Linked DNA regions of Homo sapiens: regions 1, 2, 3, 4, 5 and 6 are each linked to region 7. Evidence: promoter capture Hi-C in 16 types of primary human blood cells and fetal thymus (Javierre and others, 2016). All regions are on one chromosome and are shown on one strand. The core of a region is centred on a gene start or on the middle of the fragment in contact, and the rest is flanking DNA. Distances in the headings are between cores, read along the strand shown.

Region 1 (2,915 bases), core at 406-2,905, 370 kb after region 7:
CTCTCCATGCCCAGCCTCAATCTTGCTCCTTCCCTCCCATTCCTTCTCCAAAAGTAAACATTAGCCTGAATTTGATATTTATTATTCCTATGCATGTCTTTATACTTTCATTATTTGTATATATGCATCCATTATTTTATAGAAATTATGTATGTTTTATATGTTTATAACCTTTTTGGGTTTTTTCCCTCAACATTATGGTAGGGAGATTTATCCATGTTTTAACCTGAGCTCTCTCTTAGTTCATTCTCTTTCATATAGTTATAGGACTACACCAAATTTATTTAGCCTTTCTGCAGGTGTTTTCACAATTCAAATGAGTGCTATAGTAAACATTCTCATACAGCAGAGGGTAGTTAGTAAGAGCATCAACTCTGGAAACAGCTGGCTTGAGTTTGGATCCCACCTCTGCCATGTATTAAGCTGTGACCTTGGGCAAGTCTTAAACCTTCTGTGTCCCAATTTCTTCATCTGTCATATAGGGATATTAACAATACCTAGTCCTCATAGAGATTATTATGGAGAATAAAAAGTTCATACATGTAAAGCTTGTACAACAGTAAGCAGTGTTTTTATGTGGTTGACCCTGCAAAACAGAGCTAGTTCAAAAACAGGAAAACCCCAACGATATCAAGAAACGTCTAGAAGTGTATTTCAATGCTTCCTATCTAATACATAGTCCACTTCCCCTTGCTAGCAGACAGTGGACTCTCCCTCTCTGGAAATCAGGCAGCTGCCTCCCCCGGGTAGACATCTCTCATGATGATACTGCAATTCAAGATCTGCCCCCACCTCCCCTCATGGCTTCTAATCTAATAACTAGGGTTAACTCATCATTACCTGACTACAGAAGTACTGTCCTTGCTTCAATAGGAAACTAAATATTCACTAAGAAGCTACAGGACCTAGCTAATGGCAGAAACCACAAGAATGTGCCTGTGATGGTATGATATAGTAAGAAATACATATTTTGGTCTTCACTTCTGGTTCCTGGCTAGAGCTCTGAAACAGGTGAAAGGAGCGTCTTTTGTTATTCACAATATACCCCTTTCAACCACACCTGAATGTATGTTAATGAGGTGACTTTTGGAAAGCCTCTAAAGATGAAGGGCTGGTTGTTAGGAAAACCAATCATGATTAGAGGGTAGGAACTCCCAGCCTCACCACCAGGGAGGGAAAAGGGGCTGGAGATTGACTTAATCATACTGGTCAATGATTTACTCAATCATGCCTTTGTAATGAAGCCTCCATAAAAACCCAAAAAGACAAAGTTCAGAGGACTTCCAGGTTGGTGAACAAGAACATGTCCATGTGCTGGGAGAGTGGTGTACCCCAACACTCCACTGGAACAGAAGCTCCTGTGCTGGGGATCCTTCCAGACCTCACCCTATGTATCTTCTCATCTGGCTGTTAATTTGTATCCTGTAATATAGCACTTGTAATAAATCCGTAATCTAGTAAGTAAACTGTTCCTGAGTTCTGTGAGCCCTTCTAGCAAATGACAGAACCCAAGGTTTAAATAGCCTGAGAAAAGTACAGTGCTGTGAAAGTGGGTTTATTTTCAGTTTCATCAATACGAAAAAATTCAAAATTCACTAATCCCATAACCTGATAAATTTAAAGTGTGACACTTGCCCTAAAGACACTGGTCTTTCACACTAAGGGAATAAGCTAATTTGAATCAATATAAATGAAATTTAAATAGACATATAATAGCTTAAATAAGTTATCAGGTAATGACCATATTGTGTTTCATAAGGATGCACATTTTCCTAATTTTTGAAAAAAGTATGTAATTCTATTATGAAAGTTTATTGTAACAAAAAAATCAGTTCTTTACATGTCTCATTTCAACAGCTAGTTTAAATAGCACGCTTCATACATGTATGATAAGAGAAAAAGACATGTACTTTAAAGTAGTAAGCAATGATTAATGAATTTCATTTAACTAAAAAGCAACTTCCTGACATTTTTTTCCACTTACATTTAAGCATTTTTAGATATAATTTATATATGAAATGCACATATCTGAAGTGTGAAATTTGATTAGTTTTGACAAATGCGTACACCCACATAATCTGCACCCTTAACAAGACACAGAATATGTCCATATTTGTTTAAAAGCTGAAACAAAGCCAAACAAAAAGCTCCTTTGTAGCTTCTTACTAGTCAATCCCCTTGGAAACAACCATTGATTACATTTCTATTTAACAGATTAGTTTACTTATTACAGAACTTAATATAAATGTAATCATATAATAGACACTTTTGTGGCTTGCTTTTCTTTTTGGTAGATTACTAAGGATTTTCTAAATACAAATCATGTCATCTGCAAATAAACACAGTTTTACTTCTTCCTTTCAAATCTGATATATTTTATCTTTGTTGTATTCCCAATCTTAGGGGAAGAACTTTCAACATTTCACTAATAGGTTTTTTGTAGGAAAAAAGTTTCCTTCTTTTTCTTGTTTTCTCAAAACTTTTAAAAATCATGAAGAGGTGTTGAATTTTGTCAAAATTATTTTTGAGCATCTATTAAAATGATAGTTCTTTAGTCTGTTATGGTGAATTGCTTCGATTTTTATACGATAAACTAACCTTGTATCCCTTGGACAAGCCCCACTTGGTAATAGAGTATTATCCTTTTTACATATTGCTGGATTTGATTTGTAAATACTTTATTATGAGGAATATTGGTCTGTAGTTTTGAGGGTTTTTTGTAAAATCTTGTCTGATTTTAGTTTCTAAATTACAGAAGCTTCATAAAATGAGTTGGGAAGTATATCTTCTTTTATTTTTTGAGAAAAAAGAATAATATTGGCATTATTTCTTCCTTGTAAGTTTAATAGAATTCATTAGTGAAGATCCTTATGGGAAATACTTAAATTATGAATTCAATTTTTAAAATGAATATA
Region 2 (2,923 bases), core at 44-2,543, 380 kb after region 7:
CTCATTTAACAAATAATGAGATTAAAAAAACCTGCCCAAAGTCATGGAAGAGTCAACAACAGAGCCTCAAGCCTAGAATCTAACGGATCCCAAAACCTTGCATGATAGTTTCCATTCATGACAGACATCTACTGGGGATTCTTACCAAGAAAATTCATAAAATACGAAAAGTCTGTATATAATATGTACTTACCAGAAAACATTTCAAATACAAGAAACATATAGTATGTCATGATGATAAAGGTTTTAAAAGGAAGAGATCCCATGCTCGAGGATCTGGTAAGTGTAAAAGGGTCTGACTATAGGCTTTGGGGTCAAAGAGACCCAGATCAGGCAGAACTGCATGCAAACTCTGGGGCCATCAGCAGCAGTTAAGAGTTCAGGAAGGCAAGAAGGGGAATAGTGAAAACCAAACATTTTCAGTAAGAAATAAATTAGCATTTTTTAAAAATATCTATTTGCTTCCTGTTTTGAGCCAACAGTGTTCTACTTAGGCTCACAATCATTTCCACATACCAAAGTTCAAAAATTGTTTGCATGTTAAATGCTGACAGTGCCAATCAAAGCTTTCCCTTTTCACTGTAAATACAATAGTTAAGATTGCCTTTTTTATTTGTGGTTGATTGATAGATAATGAAAACATGTTAAGCACCAACTTCAATAACACCATAACTACCTGACCCATCTCTTGGTAACCTTGATATTCAGCACTTGAATGTTGGCATTATCCGCATAAGGACCAAAATTATCAGTAAAAAATAGACCATACCAACACATAAACTCAATTAAACCTATTAGTTCCACAAAAAATGTGAAACTGCCAGGAGTCAGTACTCATTTTTTTAACCAGATAGCTGTTCCACACTTAAGGCTGTAACATATAGACAGTAATATCAAGCATCGGAATGAGTATCACATGAATGAATTTTTCACAATCTATTGTTAGCCACAATGGCTATCCAAGAAGTAAGTACAAACTAATAATCTATTGTTTCAGAAAAAAAGAGGCTAAAAATTTAAAGATTCCTTTCTTTTTCCCAGATTGTACCTTTTTTTTTATTATTATACTTTAAGTTTTAGGGTACATGTGCACAATGTGCAGGTTAGTTACATATGTATACATGTGCCATGCTGGTGTGCTGTACCCAATAACTCGTCATTTAGCATTAGGTATATCAGATTGTACCTTAGTAGGCTAAAAACAACAGCAGTTATCTGATGACTCATTGCATCATTTGCACAGAACTTTCACTTAAATGTTGTGATTCAACATAACATTGCCATAGCTATTATTAACACTTTACATAGAAATTGAAAGTCCAGAGAATTTAGGTAACTTGGGTAGGTCACTCTCCAAGTAGGCAGCACTCCAAATCCACACTCCTTTTAATAAAAATAGGTAATAGGCAGGGTGTGGTGGCTGCAATCCCAGCACTTTGGGAGGCTGAAGTGGGAAGACTCCTTGAGCCCAGGAATTCAAGACTAGCCTGGGCAACACAGTGAGACCCCCATCTCTACATAAAGTAAAAAATTAGCTGGACAGAGGGCATGTGCCTATAGTCCCAAATATTAATACTTGGGAGGCTGAGGTATGAAGATTGCTTGAACCCAGGAGGTCAAGGTTGCAATGAGCCATGATCGTGCCACTGCATGCCAGCCTGGGGGACACGGTGAGACCCTGCCTCAAAAAAAAAAAAAAAAAAAGATAATAAATGTAGAACACATTTATACATGACTGTACCTACATGTAATCATTCAAAAGTAATTTCAAAAAATGCGGCTGAGAGTAAGCAGTTCCTATTTCTGACTTGGGTACCAAAATCTCATTGTTACTTCCATACTACGAACCAATTTTCTAACCAACAGAGTAATAAGCTATCAAATATAAAACTATGGCATATAAAGCTGGTTCCTTTAACAGTCCATCTTAAATTTCTTTCTTTCCTTTTTTAAACTGTATTTTTTCAGGAAGCAATACATGAACTTTTCCTATCTCTGTCTTTCTTTGAAGTAAGCTTCACTGACACTACGAAGATAAAAGACATTTTAAGTAATATAAAAGTATAATGTGACCTCTAGTGGACACATAACTCCACAACAGTGTAATTTCATTACAAGCTATGTGTCTTTATAGAATACAAAAAGAATGCTATAAACAATCTTTGAAATTAACATCACTCAGACATTTATAGTGTTCCTTTTAAAGTAAAACCCTAAATAGTGAATACACAATAAAATAACCATTTGCACTTTCTCAATGGGAAGCATAAAGGTTTAATAAATTATCATTAAAACATTTTAATGTCACGATTGATATACGGAGAGGGGTGGGGAGCAAGTGACAAACAGATTATCCTAAAGATCTGATGATCTGCTTTATTTAACAGCCTATCACTGCTCCTTATACAGAGTGAATATCCAACACATTTTTATTATTTATTAATACATCAACTGTAATAACAATCAATTATCAACACCAAAGCACCATTCTAGACTTGTCATGTATCATCTTTTTCAGTCTTCACAAAATCTGTGAAGATACTATTATTATACTTCACTTCATAGGTGAGAAAATGGAAGTACAGAGAGTTTAAGCAACTACTCAGTTACACAACCAATAAGTAGTAGGGCCAGGATCTGAACCTAAGGAATCAGATTCCAGAACCATTCATGCTCTTAACGTTGTATTGCATCCCTCAATATCATTACATGAAACCTAAAGCAAAACCTGTTTTTAAGATGATTTACCCAGTTTAACTGTCAAACTAGAACACAGTAAAGAACTGGAAATAAGGCAGAAATGGCTATTTAATAACCAAATAGACATTCAGAGGAGATTCAGATCCTAAATAAAGCTCCAAGAGGCCCTCAGGCTTTCATTTGGTCCTGCTTATCTAATGGCATACCTAAGTCTAACAAGATA
Region 3 (2,785 bases), core at 11-2,510, 400 kb after region 7:
TTATCTTGCCCAAATTCCTTTCTAAGGGGTCTGGGGAGTCATGCCCTACAAACCATAAATTCTCATCAGATGAGTTTTATTTAACCCTGTATAACGTGACTTACTTTCCAGTCTGACTCAGGCATAACAAGGAAGAAAATCAAAATGTTTTACCCTAAAATATATTTCTTTGCCATACCTTGGAACTGTCCTGCAAAGTCTCTTGTGGGAAAAACCCACATTCTATAGAGAATTCCCTTTCCCCTTTGTTTTCCTTCCTTCCTTTCCAGATCCAGGAGATAATCAATTAAGAGCCAGGCACTCTTTCAGGTCTCATAAGAAACATTTTACAACCTGCTATCTCTGAAGTCCGCTATCTGAGAGCTCTGCAAAATAAAACTTCGTCTCCACAATCCTTTATCTTAACCTGAACATTTCCTTTGATCTTAGGTCTTGAGATAAACTCAACTAATTGTCAACCAGAAAATGTTTAAATTTACCTATAGCCTGGAAGCCCCTGCTTTGGGTTGTCCTGCCTTTCTGAACCAAACCAATGTATTTCTTAAATGTATTTGATTGATGTCTCATGCCTCCCTAAAATATATAAAAACCAAGCTGTACCCTGACCATCTTGGGAACATGCTCTCAGGACCTCCTGAGGGCTGTGTCACGGGCCATGGTCACTCATATTTGGCTCAGAATAAATCTCTTGAAATATTTTATAGAATTTAACTCTTCATCAACAGACTCATGGTATTTAACCAAAACTTTTAATAAAAATGTGACCTTTTAAAAATCAGTGATTATATCTAAAAATTCAAATTTCTTACTATTCTTAAAAAAACAATATGACACTGTTACCAACTGGGAATAGGGGAAAGTAGCAGGGATTGCATAGAGACCCTCTCCTTGTGGCCTTCCCAACACTGAGGCAGAACTGTTGTCATTTATCACTGTCCCTGTGTTGTTTTTCTTCTTCCCTCCCACTTCGCTTACTCCAAGTGTCAGCCTGGCGCCAGTCCCCATGTGAGGTTGTAGCCTTATTTAGTTACTAATACTTGTTTATTTGTCTCTTAACCCTACAAAACTATAAGTTTCTTGAGAGCAAAGACTTGTTTCTCATTCACCTTTATTTCTCCTATACTCCCTCCCATCCAACCATAGTATATATTTATCAGCTATTTCCTGAATTTAGCGAATTATCAATCAACAAAACAGGAAAAATGTTAAAACTTAATTCATTATGAATGCTACTCAAGATTTAGCAGTTGGTAGGACTGCATCTTTACTATATTTAAATTCACTTCAAAACTCAATGATAACCCTTTTTCATATCTAAGTCACAATTAGGCTCTTTTTGAGGGTAGAGTGAATGAGAGGCTGAGATGCCGAAATGGAAGGAAGAAATCACGTGTTAAAGGCCTACTGTGTGCTAGGCACTGGTTGTAGGCTAAATAATAAAATGAGGGAAGGGCAAATCTAGAAATAAAAGAAACGTAAGGGAAGAAACCTATGTTGGAGCAGGTAGGAACAGCATTCCAGGACAGCCAGGATTCTGCAACAAGCAGTTAAAAGTATAGAGCTGCCAGGTCAGGGGATGGTTACTTTGTGTAAACTTTGTAGAACATTTACAACATTCTTAGAAGTGGTGAACTGATGCCACCTGAAGAGTCTATACTGAAGCCTATGACCTTCCCTGTTCCCCCAACTGAGGACTCTTCTCCTTTTAATCAAAGCAGTCAATTTAATTACATCTACATTGAGAAAGTATCACTAGATATCTTTTGCTATCTTGTTTCCTAGGAGGAAAATAGATCATAAAGAAATGTGTCATATAATCCCTGCTGTCAAAACAAAATAAGAAAAATCTGAAATCAGAAATAGTAGATTTCATTTAAGAGTGTAACAGCTTTAATTAAAACCCATAAAGCAAATACTTTGGCCTAACAGTGCTTGACATGTCGTACTGTAAAACCCTTTTAAATTAAATTTCTTAAGATAATGGTAGATTCACATGTAGTTGAAAGATATAATATAGAAATATCTCTTGTACCATTTATCCAGTTTCCCCTAATGGTAACGTCTTACAAAACTATAGTACAATATATCAACCTAAGATATTGATACTGACACAGTCCAGACAAAGCACATTTCTATCACCACAAATATCCCTCATGTTGCTATTTTATAGCCATATCCATTCCCTTCTGCCCTGCTGCCTAATTTTTTAACCTTTGGCAACCACTAATCTGTTCTCCATTTTTGAAATTTTGCAATTTCGCAATTTCAATGATGTTATATAAATGGAATCACACAATATGTAATCTTTTGGATTGGCTGTTTTAACTCAAGTTCTCTGAAGATTAATCCTGCTGTAAAACCTTCTAACTGATGCCAATCATGGAGCAGAATCAAAATCTAGTAAACAAAGACCTGGGGTTCTCTGATGACTCACATGAAAGCAAAGGGAACAAGAAAGATTAAATTTCATTGTCCTTTGTTCTCTGTGACAGGTTTCTCTGTTGTGTTTTCCTACCACCATAAAAATACAAAACCATTCTCATTGTCAAACTGTTTTACTACCAAGACTATTTTACACAGTCAGATTATAAACTTTTATGTTTGTGTGGCCATCAAGGTTTGTGAAGCTTGTCTCAGAAAAACATGCCCAATTAAGAAAGTTCAAAATCATCCTTATTTATATTAATCGTTTCCGATTCCAATTTACAATGAACTTACTGAGTTTTCCACTTAGAACTCAGTCTTCGCTCTCTCACAATACAAAAATAAATCTCACTGGAATTGC
Region 4 (2,901 bases), core at 368-2,867, 290 kb after region 7:
CAGTTACCATACTGGAGATTATAATTGAGAAATTTTTAAAATATTTAGTAATTCACTTAAAAAGAAGAGTAAACCCATTACACACTGATACATGTATTTTATAAAAAATAATTATATATTTTAAAGAATTTAGTCAGATGAATGGCATTGTTTTACATTTTTGCAAATCTCTTTAATGTCTGTCTTCTCTAGAAGACAGGTAGATTCCTGTATCTGCTCTCCTATGTTGTTTTGCTTAAAGTACATGGAGCAAACCAGGCCTTACACAGATATGTAGTTGAAAAGGAAGGAGTATTTTAATAGGCTTTTCAGGTAATGGTGGATATTCTTCTTGATGTCACAAAAATAGACAAATTGCAGTTTCTGGAAGATTAGTTGAAATATGGAATCTGAAACCATATTAATGAACTTAACAGACTCTGTTACATTAAGTCCATTGCTTCATCTTACACTTTGACTGGATCTCTTACCCATGCCTGGTTTTATAACATCATACACTGGTTATGTGGAAAATGTTGGCTTACTAAGTTTTGCAGCTCTTCCAAATATTGATACATTTTATTATATCATATCACCTACAATATCATCAGAATAGTTTTTAGAGTTTTGAAAAGCTATCAAGCTAATGGTGATGAATCCAAGTTCTTCCAAAATTCTGATTTTTGCTTAAAAGCTCAAATTTCAGCATTACAGCAAATACTGTTGGTTGTTTTCCTTGAAAACAGGGCTCATTTAGTTCATGTTTGATAAAACATCTGCCAAATACTGAAGTTTGAATAATCATAATATGTCTGCCAGTCATTCTTTCAAGTAAAAATTTTGTTCCATAAAAAAATCTGTTAGTTCATCCTGCAACTCAATCACACCAAGATTTTCTCATGACTGAGACTGTATATACTTCAGTATACAGCCAGAGGGGTATTTCTGTTACACTCTAGCTTCTCCTTCTCTGACTGGTCCCATTCTATCCACTATGTTATTTGAATGCTTGCCTCATTGCCTTTGTAAAATCTTTTACTGTAGATACCATTTCTTTTTCTTTTTTGTATCTTTCATGGTATTTAGTAGTCACTGTCACTGAATGAATAAATATCCTATTGTCCAGAATAGAGAGTAAGCACATTGAAAATAGGGACTCTATGTTATTCTTTGAATTGCTGACACCTAAGACAGTATCTTGGGCACAACAGAGTATAAATGTGGTTGTTTATGATGATAAAGTTTATTATGTACATTATATTAGGGTGGCCAATAATAATCTCAATCATAATTATTCCTTATCACTTTACTTTCAGTACATATTGTAGAGGTGAAGCTTTGTAGGCTAGGTTTGTAGATTGGCAGGAAAAGATCCCCCTCCCCCACATGCACACACCATTATGGACTCCTGGCCAACAAAGAGACTGAATGGGAATGAGGTGGTCTCACAGAGCAGGGCTGGATGCAGCGTGCTGGTGGACAGTTTCCCCCTCAGTGAGGTGTGCTGGTGACACTGAACAATTAGTTGTAAGAAACTACCCATTTACTCTCAGCTTTACATCAACATTCTGGAGTAATTATGCTCACAATCTATCTGCTTTCATTACAATGAATGTTTAGGATCCTCTAGTTCTAGAAACTCAGTATCAATAGGGCCATCCTCAACCAGGGGAAAACACCAAAGTCAGTGTTCAAGTGTCCCCCAAAACTCTTCAGGTCTCCAGTTTCCCAGGGTCCTAGAAAACCCATCCCCCCTCAAAAGTTTAGCCAGAAAATATTTGCTTTTAAAATTAGGCACATAGGTGAGAAATGTATATATGATAATTTTTACCATGACAGAGGAGGCTGGGATATAGTTTCAGTTCCAGGAACACCATGACAGGGAGAATTGGCTCTTATCCACTGTATAGAACAGCAATTAATTTAAAAAATCAAGCTTTGTTAATGGTGCTCTTGAGACCACTGACAGCCTAATGTTACCGGTTTTCCCTCTGTTTTGGAAAACACAGATCTAAACACAGTCCAATTACACTTTCATTTTCATTACACTTCAGTCAATTAAGCTATACATTTATTTATACAATAGTTATACTCAAAAGTGTCTTCAGGATGATTATGAAAGTTGCATTAAAACTGTATCGTTAAAAGCAGCTACCATGAACTATTACATTACTACGAAGAATATCCTTTGATATTAAATATTTTTTTCCTTCTAAAAGACTGGTATTACCCTTTGCATTACTTTTTTGTGACAGATTTATTGAAATATATAGTTCACGTGCAATGAAATCTACCCTTTGAAAGTGTACAATGCATTGTTTGTAATATATTTACAGAGTTGTGCAACCATCACTGCCATCTAATCTTAGAACATTTTTATCACTCAAAAGGAAATCCTATACTCATTAGCAGTCACTCCCCATTCTTCCTCCCCAAGTCCCTGGCAACCACAAATTTGCTTTCTGTCTTTATGGATTTGCCTGTTTTGGAAATTTCATATAAATGAGTTCATACAGTATGTGGCCTTTTGTGTCTGGCTTCTTTTACTTGCCTTCAAGGTTCATCTATCTTGTAGCATGTATCAGTACTTTATTCCTTTTTATGACCAAATAATATTCCATTGCACAGATATACCACGTTTTGCTTATCCATTCACCCAGTTGATAGTTGATAGACTTTGGGTGTTTATACTTTTTGGCTGTTAAGAATAATGCTTCTATTGACATTGTGTACAGTTTTTATGTGGAAATGTTTTCAATTCCTCTGGGTATATACCTAGGAGTAGATTATGTAACACTTCAAGGATTAAGTTAGTGGCAGGGATGAGAATAAGTTAAATATTACATTCGTAGATTTGTTATACTACCAAGGCTAAAGGGACATTATAAGGGGAAAAATAGTTCCCAAATAACAATAAGAGAT
Region 5 (3,034 bases), core at 485-2,984, 330 kb after region 7:
CACCAATTCATCTGGAAGTTATTTGTTCAGATGACTGCAGAGTTTTGTCAGTAATGTTTTGAGTTATCTAAACTTACCTTCCTTCTTAAACAGTAAAGTGGAACAAAAGGCACAGTTGATTCCATTTTAGTCTCTGGATCCATTTTTTATTCAACAAAGATTTCTTGAACATCTATCTAATGTAAGTCAGCAGTCTGTTAGATATTGGAGATTTAACTGTAAATAAGTTAAGTGTAATTCCTGAATCCTGACTTCATTTATAGTTGTAAAATAAGTAATTACAATAAATTTAGATGGCATATTAGTTTGTTCTCACATTGCTAATAAAGACATACCTGAGACTGGGTAATTTACAAACAAAAAAAAATAAAGCTATATTATTTTGTTTTTTACATTTAGTACTATGAGTCATCTGGAATTCAGTTTTTGACTATGGTGTGATATAAGGGTCAAATTTTATTTTTTCTTCAGATGAATATCTACTTATCCCCTTATAATTAATTGAAAAAATTCATTTTTCTCAATACCTGCAACGTCCCTTTTCATAAATATGTCACCTTACATATATAAGCCTATTTTGAAGTACCATTCTGTTCTGGTCATGTTACTTTATCTTTGTGCCCATACCACACTGCTTTAGTAACTATAAAGTATAACACATCCTGCCACCTATTCTTCATTATGTACGATTGTCATGGCTATTTTTATCCTTTGTAATCCATATACATTTTAGAATCACATTGTAAATTTCTTTATAAAAGCTAATATGATTTTGAATCAGTTTGTATACAAATCCATTTGAGGAAAACTGGTATTTTGACACTACTGAATAATTCAATCATGAACATTTTGATCTTCATAATTATTTAGGTCTTTCTGAAAAACATTTTCTCATTTTTACATTTAAAGTTTTATAGTTTTCTTCATAGAGGTTTCTACGCCTTTTATATTTATTCCTAAGGACTCTTTACTTTTTGATGTTATAATCTTTAAAAAATTTTATTTTCTTACCGGTTAATGCTGGAATATACAAATACAATTGGTTTTATATATTGATTTTTGTATCCAGTAAGCATCCTAAGCACTTACTAAATTTATAACTCATCAGTGGGCCACTTTGTATTTACTGCATATACAATAATACCATCTGTTAACACAAAGTTTTATTTCTTCCTTTGCAATCCTTATCCATTTTCCTTTTCTTGTCTTAGTATACTGTCTTGAATCGCCACATAATGATGAACTGAAGTGGTAATAACAGGCATTCTTGTCTCAGTTCTGATTTCAGAAAGGAAATTTTTAATATTTTAAGTATAATATTTGCTATAAATTTTTTGTAGATATTCTTTTTGATATTAAAGAAGTTCCCTTCTATTCTTACTTTATAACAAGTTTTTTTCATAAATGAATGCTGATTTTGGTTTGTCAGGTTTTTTTCTTTCCAATCATCTATGGAGATGGCTTTTCTACTTATTCTGATGACATGGTAAATGAATTTATTTTTTAACATTAAAACATGCATTCCTTAGATAGACCCTATTTGGTCATATTATATTTTCCTTTTTATTTATCACTTGATTCTCATAACTTTTCTCCCCTCAGGATATTTACAACTATGTTCAAAAGTAAGCTTATCCTATAATTTTTCATTCTTGTATTATTCTTGCTGGGTTTTGGTATCAAACTTGTGCTGGTCTCACATCATGAATTGGGAAATACACCCTCTTTTACTTTCTTTGGAGTAGTCTGTGTAAAAATGAAGTGCTTCTTCTTTAAATGTTTGTTAGAACCTGCCATTAAAACCAAACAGATCTATCACTTCTTTGTGGAAAGCTTTAAATTATATATTCAATTTCTCTTATATTAACTCAATTTTTGATTGTATCTGTTTCTTAAAGTTGTATTTTTCTAGGAATTTGTTAATTTCTCCAAAAATTTTCAAGTTTATTGGTAAAGTTGATTATAATGAACACTTACCTTTCAAAAAAAGTATAAGTCATTCTCCTTTCTGGTCCTAGAAACTTACTTTGCCTTCTCATTGAAAACCACAATCACAGAAATAGAAACAACTTCAAATAGCCCAGTAGGTTCAGCAATCTGTATTTAAAATTATCTAAGAAAGATGGCTGTCTGGAATTAAAGCTCTGTAAAGCTGAAATCACTACTTTTTTCTTTGATAGTTTGTTTCATTTCAAGTTCATTCATCTATTAAGCAAAGTTGCAAGATACAAAGATGAGAGTCCTTGCTGTCAAGATACTTGCTGCCTGTAGGAAAAGATGTTCTGATAAAGAAACAAACATAATCTCATGAGATAAATCCTACTCTGTGCATGATACGGACAAGGACAAGATGCCATGAAAACTGAGAGGAGAAGTATTCTTACTCTTCCTTTAGGATTGGACTTTCTGTGTTGGCAAGAATAGTGGAGTAGTAAAAGTTGAGGAAGCAGAGGGATGCAGAGATAACATCCCAAATAGATTTATATGTCACACCTAGGACATACAGAGTGAATTAAGTGTATATTGGGGTAGCATCAACAGCTTTTAAGTGATCTAATTTGCATTACAGAAAGTTGGAAATAAGGAAAAATTTCAGGCACTCGTAGATGTGTAACTTCAGTAATTCAGAATTAGCTAAAAGAAATATCATCCTACCTATTACCAACATGAAAACCTGTAATCTACAGAAGTTTAAAAATGAAAATTAAAAGGCTTGAGATAACAAGCTGCTGTCAGTTTCTCCTAGATAAGTAACAGAGATAAGAAAGAAAAGGAGTGCAGCCAAACATTCAGTTTCTATACCTATAACAGGATGGTCCATAGGGACATTCAGGCCGGTCATCAGTCTCATCTTGGCCCACGATTTGTACACCTCCATAATCACTATCACCAGGATGGCTAAAATGTTGAAAATGAACAGGATTCTTCCTAGGAGGGCGACAAATATACTGTCAGAAAAAAAAAATAGGATATTCTAGATTTTTAGTGGATATAGCAGGAAACCAGACAATCCACATCTGGCTATCCTTGAACA
Region 6 (2,700 bases), core at 73-2,572, 420 kb after region 7:
TCATTTTGTTGTGCCAACTGAAGAATCACGAGGTTCATGAATGTGGAAAGGAGAGCTTTATTTCTTATAAAGGGTTGCAGCCTGCAGGCTGGCCATCCCACAGCCTGGGAAGGGTAGCTTCTGGCAGAAACCAGAAGCAGGTACTTCTAGGGAGGGAAGGGTAAGACAGGAATTTAGGCTGAAAGGGTCAGCTAAGTATATACATTTAACAGGCTATAGGAGGAGCTATGAATATTCACAAAAGGGGAGTGCACTCATGCACAGCAAGCTAACATGTATGTTACCTACATCCTATGTTCACTTTAGGATGGAAACTTAACATTTAAATGTATTAAAATTAGGCTCTATACGTCAAAAGCTGAAACAGAGGACACAGAAGCATCCTGTGTGCAGCTTCTGTAAACCGGCCAGAACCAGTCCATGGTTAGTGGCCTCTTATCAGGAAGGAATGATGGTCAGTTGTTGTGTCAAACTGCAAAAAGGAAGAAGAGTCCAGCAAGTCTTCAGAAAGGGCCTGTTTCTGTTTAACACTTAGGAGTGGAAGTATAATGGCAAGTAGCAAGGGAGGGAGTATAACAGGGCATGTCTGACCTCCCAATCCATCATGGCTGGGAATTCAGCTTTTAAGATTTCTCTAGGATCTCCTTAGCCAAGAGGGGAGTCCTTTTAGTCAGTTGCAGGGGGGACCTTTGGATTTTATTTTCGTTTCTCAGTTGAAAGCCTAGCAGTTAAGACTTCTGAGTCTTCTATGCTTGAAAAAAGTCTTTTGAAATTCAAAGCTGAGTTCTGACTTCTTTATTCTCGGCTGTACCTACCAGACCCACAAAGCACTGGATGCCTGTCTTTCCAGGCAGAGAGCTGCAGAGAAATAAGAATTACTGGGCATGGAAAATACAGCGGAATGTATTACAAAAAAAAAACAACCCATTCTAGTATTACTCTACACAATAAAATAATGCTGGAAAAGGAAGAAAGAGTAAAAACTATAAAGAACAGCTGAGACAGAAGAAGGTAATAAACAAGGCATGCGGGTTGGGTTTCTAATAAAAGCTTGACATCCTTATATTGAGTTCTACCACAAGTAAAACTGACTTTTTTCATGAACCTGTTTGCATTTTCCAATACCTCCTTGTCCTTACCCAGTCAGGGCCGGATGGAAATAAAAAAAGATAAAACTGCAGTTTTACAAGTACCACACCAATCATACTGTATTATCATAAACATTAACTGCTCAAGAAAAAATTTTTCTTAATTAATTAATTTAGTTATTTATTTTTAGAGACTGGGTCTCACTATGTTGCCCAGGCTGGCCTCGAACTCCTGAGCTCAAGCAATCCTCTCCCCTCAACCTCCCAAAGTGCTGGAATTACAAGCATGAACCACTGTTCTGGCCCAAAAGAAATTTTTAATAATCATTTTCTGAGGCCTACTTTTCTGCTATGGGTCTTCTGTGCCTTGTAGGGGAAAAAAACCCAGCTGCTGGTTTCCCAGTTTGCTCATTTTGATTTACTTTTAATATGACAAAATTATACAGTCCATTTGTCACACAATGAAATCCTGATAGAAAATATGTAAAACCATAAAAGAAGCTTTCTAAAAATCACACGTGAGAATCTCCCCCACTTATTGCTGTGGTTGTGTTTTTTTGTTGCCTAACAAGTAGATTGAGCACAATTTCCTGTCTTTATTCTCATTGGTTAGTGAAGAAAATAAAAAGGACTGCTTTTGCCATTGTTTTCCTGTGTATGGCCTACTTTTTTCATCAGTTCAACTTTTTTTTTTCTCTCTCAGACTTTTATTATATATTTTTAAACGTGCTTTCTCCCTAAATGTTTTATTTTGAAAGTTTTCACTCTTACAAAAAATTTCAAAGTCTAGAATATGGCATCATCACCTAGATTAACCAATTGTTAACTTTAACCATGTGTGCTTTATCTCTGTCTATACCAGGTCCCTAAACTTTATCACTATTAACATTCTGGGCTGGATAATTCTTTGTTTGGGGGAGGGGCAGGGGTGCTGTCGTATACACTGTAGAATGTTTAGCAGCACCGCTGGCCTCTATTCATTAGATGCCAGTAGCACCACTTCCCAAGTGCTGGCAACCAAAAATGTCGCCAGACATTGCCAAATGTCTCCTGGGGGAAAATCCCTCTTGTTAGGAACTACTGGTTTATACTACATTTTAAAAAAACACCTAAATGTCCATCAACCAAGAAGAGTGGATAAAGAATAGATATCTATAATATGTATATTTATATATAATATATATTATATATTTTATATATAATATATATAATTTATATATAATATATAATATATATTTTATATATTATATATTATATATATTATATATAAAATATATATTTAATATAATATATAATATAATATATATATATTTTATATAATATATAATATATATATTTTATATAATATATAATATATAATATATAAAATATATATTTAATATAATATATAATATATTATATATAATATGTAATATATAATATATAATATATTATATATAATATGTAATATATAATGTATATTATATATTATAATATATAATATATATTATATAATATACATTATATATAATATATATTATATATAATATACATTATATATAATATACATAATATACATTATATATAATATACATAATATACATTTTATATATAATATATATAATATACATTT
Region 7 (2,730 bases), core at 178-2,677:
GAGCCAGTCCAAGTTCCCCGACTGAAGAACTTGGAGTCCCATATTCAAGGACAGGAAGCATCCAGCATGGGAGAAAGATAGGCTGAAAGTCTAGGCCAGTCTCGTCTTTTCACGTTTTTCTGCCTGCTTTATATTCTAACCGTGCTGGCGGCTGATTAGATGGTGCCTAGCTAGATTAAGGGTGGGTCTACCTTTCCCAGCCCACTGATTCAAATGTTAATCTCCTTTGGCAACACCCTCACAGACACACCCGGGATCAATACTTTGCATCCTGCAATCCAATCAAGTTGACAGTAAGTATTAACCATCACACCAAGCTTTTGCTGGAGCCTCTTGATGACAATTTTGATTGAGTCAGAAGGATGAATTTCGCAGAGATGTTGGTTATATTAACAACTCATTGCACAGATGGAGGACCTGAGGTCCACATCCAGCTACAAATTTCTGCCTGCCTCCTGCCTCCAGGCTGATCTGGGGACGTGTTGGCCTCTCAGCATTATTGCCCATGCCCTAGTCTGGTAGAAGAGTGGTTTAAAAGTGTGACTGTTTTATTCTTCATAAGAATCAGGCTGCCTTGGTTGAAATTGTGGCCCCATCACTTTGCAACTTTGTGGCCTCTGGCAAGCTATGGCACTTCACTGACCCATATATGTGATGGAGATAATGATACGGTTATTACAGGAGCACACTTGATGATAGGTGTAAAGCACTCAGTACAATGCCTGTTTGTAGGAAGCATCTAATAAATTCTAGTTGCCAGTATAACTAAGCACTTGCCCTATTTTTCAAATGCTATTTTAGCCAGATCAAATAGGTAGGAAAAAGCCTGTCAATCATGAAGTTTATACTTTCCTGTTTCTAAAAAGGTACACTTCTAAAAATTTATATAATTCATTTATAGCTATTAACTTAAACTTGGAAAGTTTGGATATTTGGTCTGTCTTCACAAGTGTTTATCTGAGCCCTACCTCTCAAATTAACATGTATCACCATTGATGTGCATTATGTTGATTCTTATACCTATTATATGCATGTGTGAAACTAAGCCCCATAAAAACAGAATTTAGGCATTCCTGCTGAAAGGAAGTGAATTGAAGGGAAGAGAAGCAGAGCCTTTGCAAAGAGAAAATTGTCCTATCTCTCAACCAGTGTCAGAATGTGGAAATGTTTACAAAATGCTCATTAAAAGAAATAGGGATTGCAAGATAGAAACAAATTCTGGTGCACAAGTTTACACTAGGGAGATAAGAAAGGCTAGGCCCCTATAGGGGATTTTGTTATCCAATTACTGCAACCTGACTTTTAGGGGGAGAGGAAGAGTGGTAGGGGGAGGGAGAGAGAGAGGAAGAGTTTCCAAACTTGTCTCCAGTGACAGGAGACATTTACGTTCCACAAGATAAAACTGCCACTTAGAGCCCAGGGAAGCTAAACCTTCCTGGCTTGGCCTAGGAGCTCGAGCGGAGTCATGGGCTCTCTGGTCCTGACACTGTGCGCTCTTTTCTGCCTGGCAGCTTACTTGGTTTCTGGCAGCCCCATCATGAACCTAGAGCAGTCTCCTCTGGAAGAAGATATGTCCCTCTTTGGTGATGTTTTCTCAGAGCAAGACGGTGTCGACTTTAACACACTGCTCCAGAGCATGAAGGATGAGTTTCTTAAGACACTAAACCTCTCTGACATCCCCACGCAGGATTCAGCCAAGGTGGACCCACCAGAGTACATGTTGGAACTCTACAACAAATTTGCAACAGATCGGACCTCCATGCCCTCTGCCAACATCATTAGGAGTTTCAAGAATGAAGGTAAGTTTTTGCTGATGAAATTTTGCTAGGATTTTTTTCAAGACACAATAAGTAAATTTACAATGCATGGGAATGATATAGGTAAGGGTAAATACATCTATATAAGGATGTTAAATACATATGGATACACAAAAACAAGGCACATTTTGTTCTATACCAATTATATAGTCATTTCAGGAACCTCGAAAAATACTTACAAACATCTTTTAATCCAAAGCCACAAAACATCTATCAATTTGACATCATAATTGGGTCCTTTTAAAAAATGTTAATTTGAACACCAAGTAATACAAAGAATTAATGTTGGTCTACTGCCGTACCTTTGTCATTTTCCAAATAGGCCTTGATTGCCATATGGGCTTTTAATTAACTAAAAAATTTCTCAACTTCTACTTAGAATAAAAAGGGTAAAAACAGTCAAAAAACATCAAATTGTGATTTGTGTTTTGTTCAAACTTTTGATAAGTTTTTATTTTGTGACCTTATTTAAGAAATGTTCAAACAGGATGGAAATATATTTTAAAGATTCTTCCTAAGGCTGTGTTGTTTGATGTGTCATGTACATCCTTAAAGCACTGTTTACAGTTTCCAGGAAGTGTAGATGGCCCATTAATCATCCAGCTCATCATTTCCGTCTTTATAAAGAGCAACGTACAAGCTTTGAATTATTGGTGGGAAAAGTGTGTTTTCTTCTCTTAGGTCTTTAAATTTGGTAACTAAATCTAATGAGCTAGCAAGTTAATGTTTTTGTTTGTTTGTTTGTTTGTTTGTTTTTTGGTTAATATGGTCCTAGTAGGAAAAAAAACCCCTGATATCTAGATATCTATAGTAGAAGCTGAAGGTCCAAAGGAACTAATTTAATTTTTGCCAGTTATGCTTTTATAGTCACTAACCAGGTATAAAAGAAGCTTCCCGTTAATATTGGCCAGAT

The links. The method cuts DNA at HindIII sites, captures the fragments that hold promoters and counts their contacts. A CHiCAGO score of 5 or more calls a contact.
Region 1: a fragment that was not itself captured here is called in contact with the fragment with the promoter of BMP10 in region 7 in 7 of 17 cell types (naive B cells, total CD4 T cells, naive CD4 T cells and 4 more); the score reaches 9.6 in naive B cells.
Region 2: a contact is called between a fragment that was not itself captured here and the fragment with the promoter of BMP10 in region 7, in 15 of 17 cell types (activated CD4 T cells, naive CD4 T cells, naive B cells and 12 more). The highest score is 14.6, in activated CD4 T cells.
Region 3: a fragment that was not itself captured here is called in contact with the fragment with the promoter of BMP10 in region 7 in 7 of 17 cell types (M2 macrophages, naive B cells, total CD4 T cells and 4 more); the score reaches 6.6 in M2 macrophages.
Region 4: a fragment that was not itself captured here is called in contact with the fragment with the promoter of BMP10 in region 7 in 3 of 17 cell types (total CD8 T cells, naive CD8 T cells and naive CD4 T cells); the score reaches 5.9 in total CD8 T cells.
Region 5: a fragment that was not itself captured here is called in contact with the fragment with the promoter of BMP10 in region 7 in 4 of 17 cell types (naive CD8 T cells, total B cells, total CD4 T cells and 1 more); the score reaches 6.9 in naive CD8 T cells.
Region 6: a contact is called between a fragment that was not itself captured here and the fragment with the promoter of BMP10 in region 7, in 10 of 17 cell types (activated CD4 T cells, naive CD4 T cells, M1 macrophages and 7 more). The highest score is 7.9, in activated CD4 T cells.

The regions. Positions count from the first base shown.
Region 1 is chr2:68,504,153-68,507,067 of GRCh38, reverse strand. The region is part of intron 3 of APLF (aprataxin and PNKP like factor); the gene reads right to left. Among named protein-coding and RNA genes, the nearest start is that of APLF, 38 kb to the right of the region's middle. The HindIII fragment of the contact is 2,210 bases long and covers 551-2,760 here.
Region 2 is chr2:68,487,111-68,490,033 of GRCh38, reverse strand. The region is part of intron 1 of APLF (aprataxin and PNKP like factor); the gene reads right to left. Among named protein-coding and RNA genes, the nearest start is that of APLF, 21 kb to the right of the region's middle. The HindIII fragment of the contact is 1,449 bases long and covers 569-2,017 here.
Region 3 is chr2:68,469,729-68,472,513 of GRCh38, reverse strand. The region is part of intron 1 of APLF (aprataxin and PNKP like factor); the gene reads right to left. Among named protein-coding and RNA genes, the nearest start is that of APLF, 3.5 kb to the right of the region's middle. The HindIII fragment of the contact is 2,738 bases long and covers 1-2,629 here.
Region 4 is chr2:68,579,295-68,582,195 of GRCh38, reverse strand. APLF (aprataxin and PNKP like factor) reads right to left here. Exons shown (of 10, transcript NM_173545.3): 10 at 2,034-2,901. Among named protein-coding and RNA genes, the nearest start is that of PROKR1, 63 kb to the left of the region's middle. The HindIII fragment of the contact is 600 bases long and covers 1,318-1,917 here.
Region 5 is chr2:68,545,081-68,548,114 of GRCh38, reverse strand. It overlaps APLF (aprataxin and PNKP like factor), which reads right to left. Exons shown (of 10, transcript NM_173545.3): 8 at 2,803-2,928. Among named protein-coding and RNA genes, the nearest start is that of APLF, 79 kb to the right of the region's middle. The HindIII fragment of the contact is 203 bases long and covers 1,633-1,835 here.
Region 6 is chr2:68,451,693-68,454,392 of GRCh38, reverse strand. No RefSeq gene overlaps it. Among named protein-coding and RNA genes, the nearest start is that of FBXO48, 14 kb to the left of the region's middle. The HindIII fragment of the contact is 539 bases long and covers 1,053-1,591 here.
Region 7 is chr2:68,870,094-68,872,823 of GRCh38, reverse strand. BMP10 (bone morphogenetic protein 10) reads left to right here and starts at 1,427. Exons shown (of 2, transcript NM_014482.3): 1 at 1,427-1,799. The coding sequence starts at 1,466. RefSeq lists a silencer at 1,451-1,611. The HindIII fragment of the contact is 2,140 bases long and covers 320-2,459 here.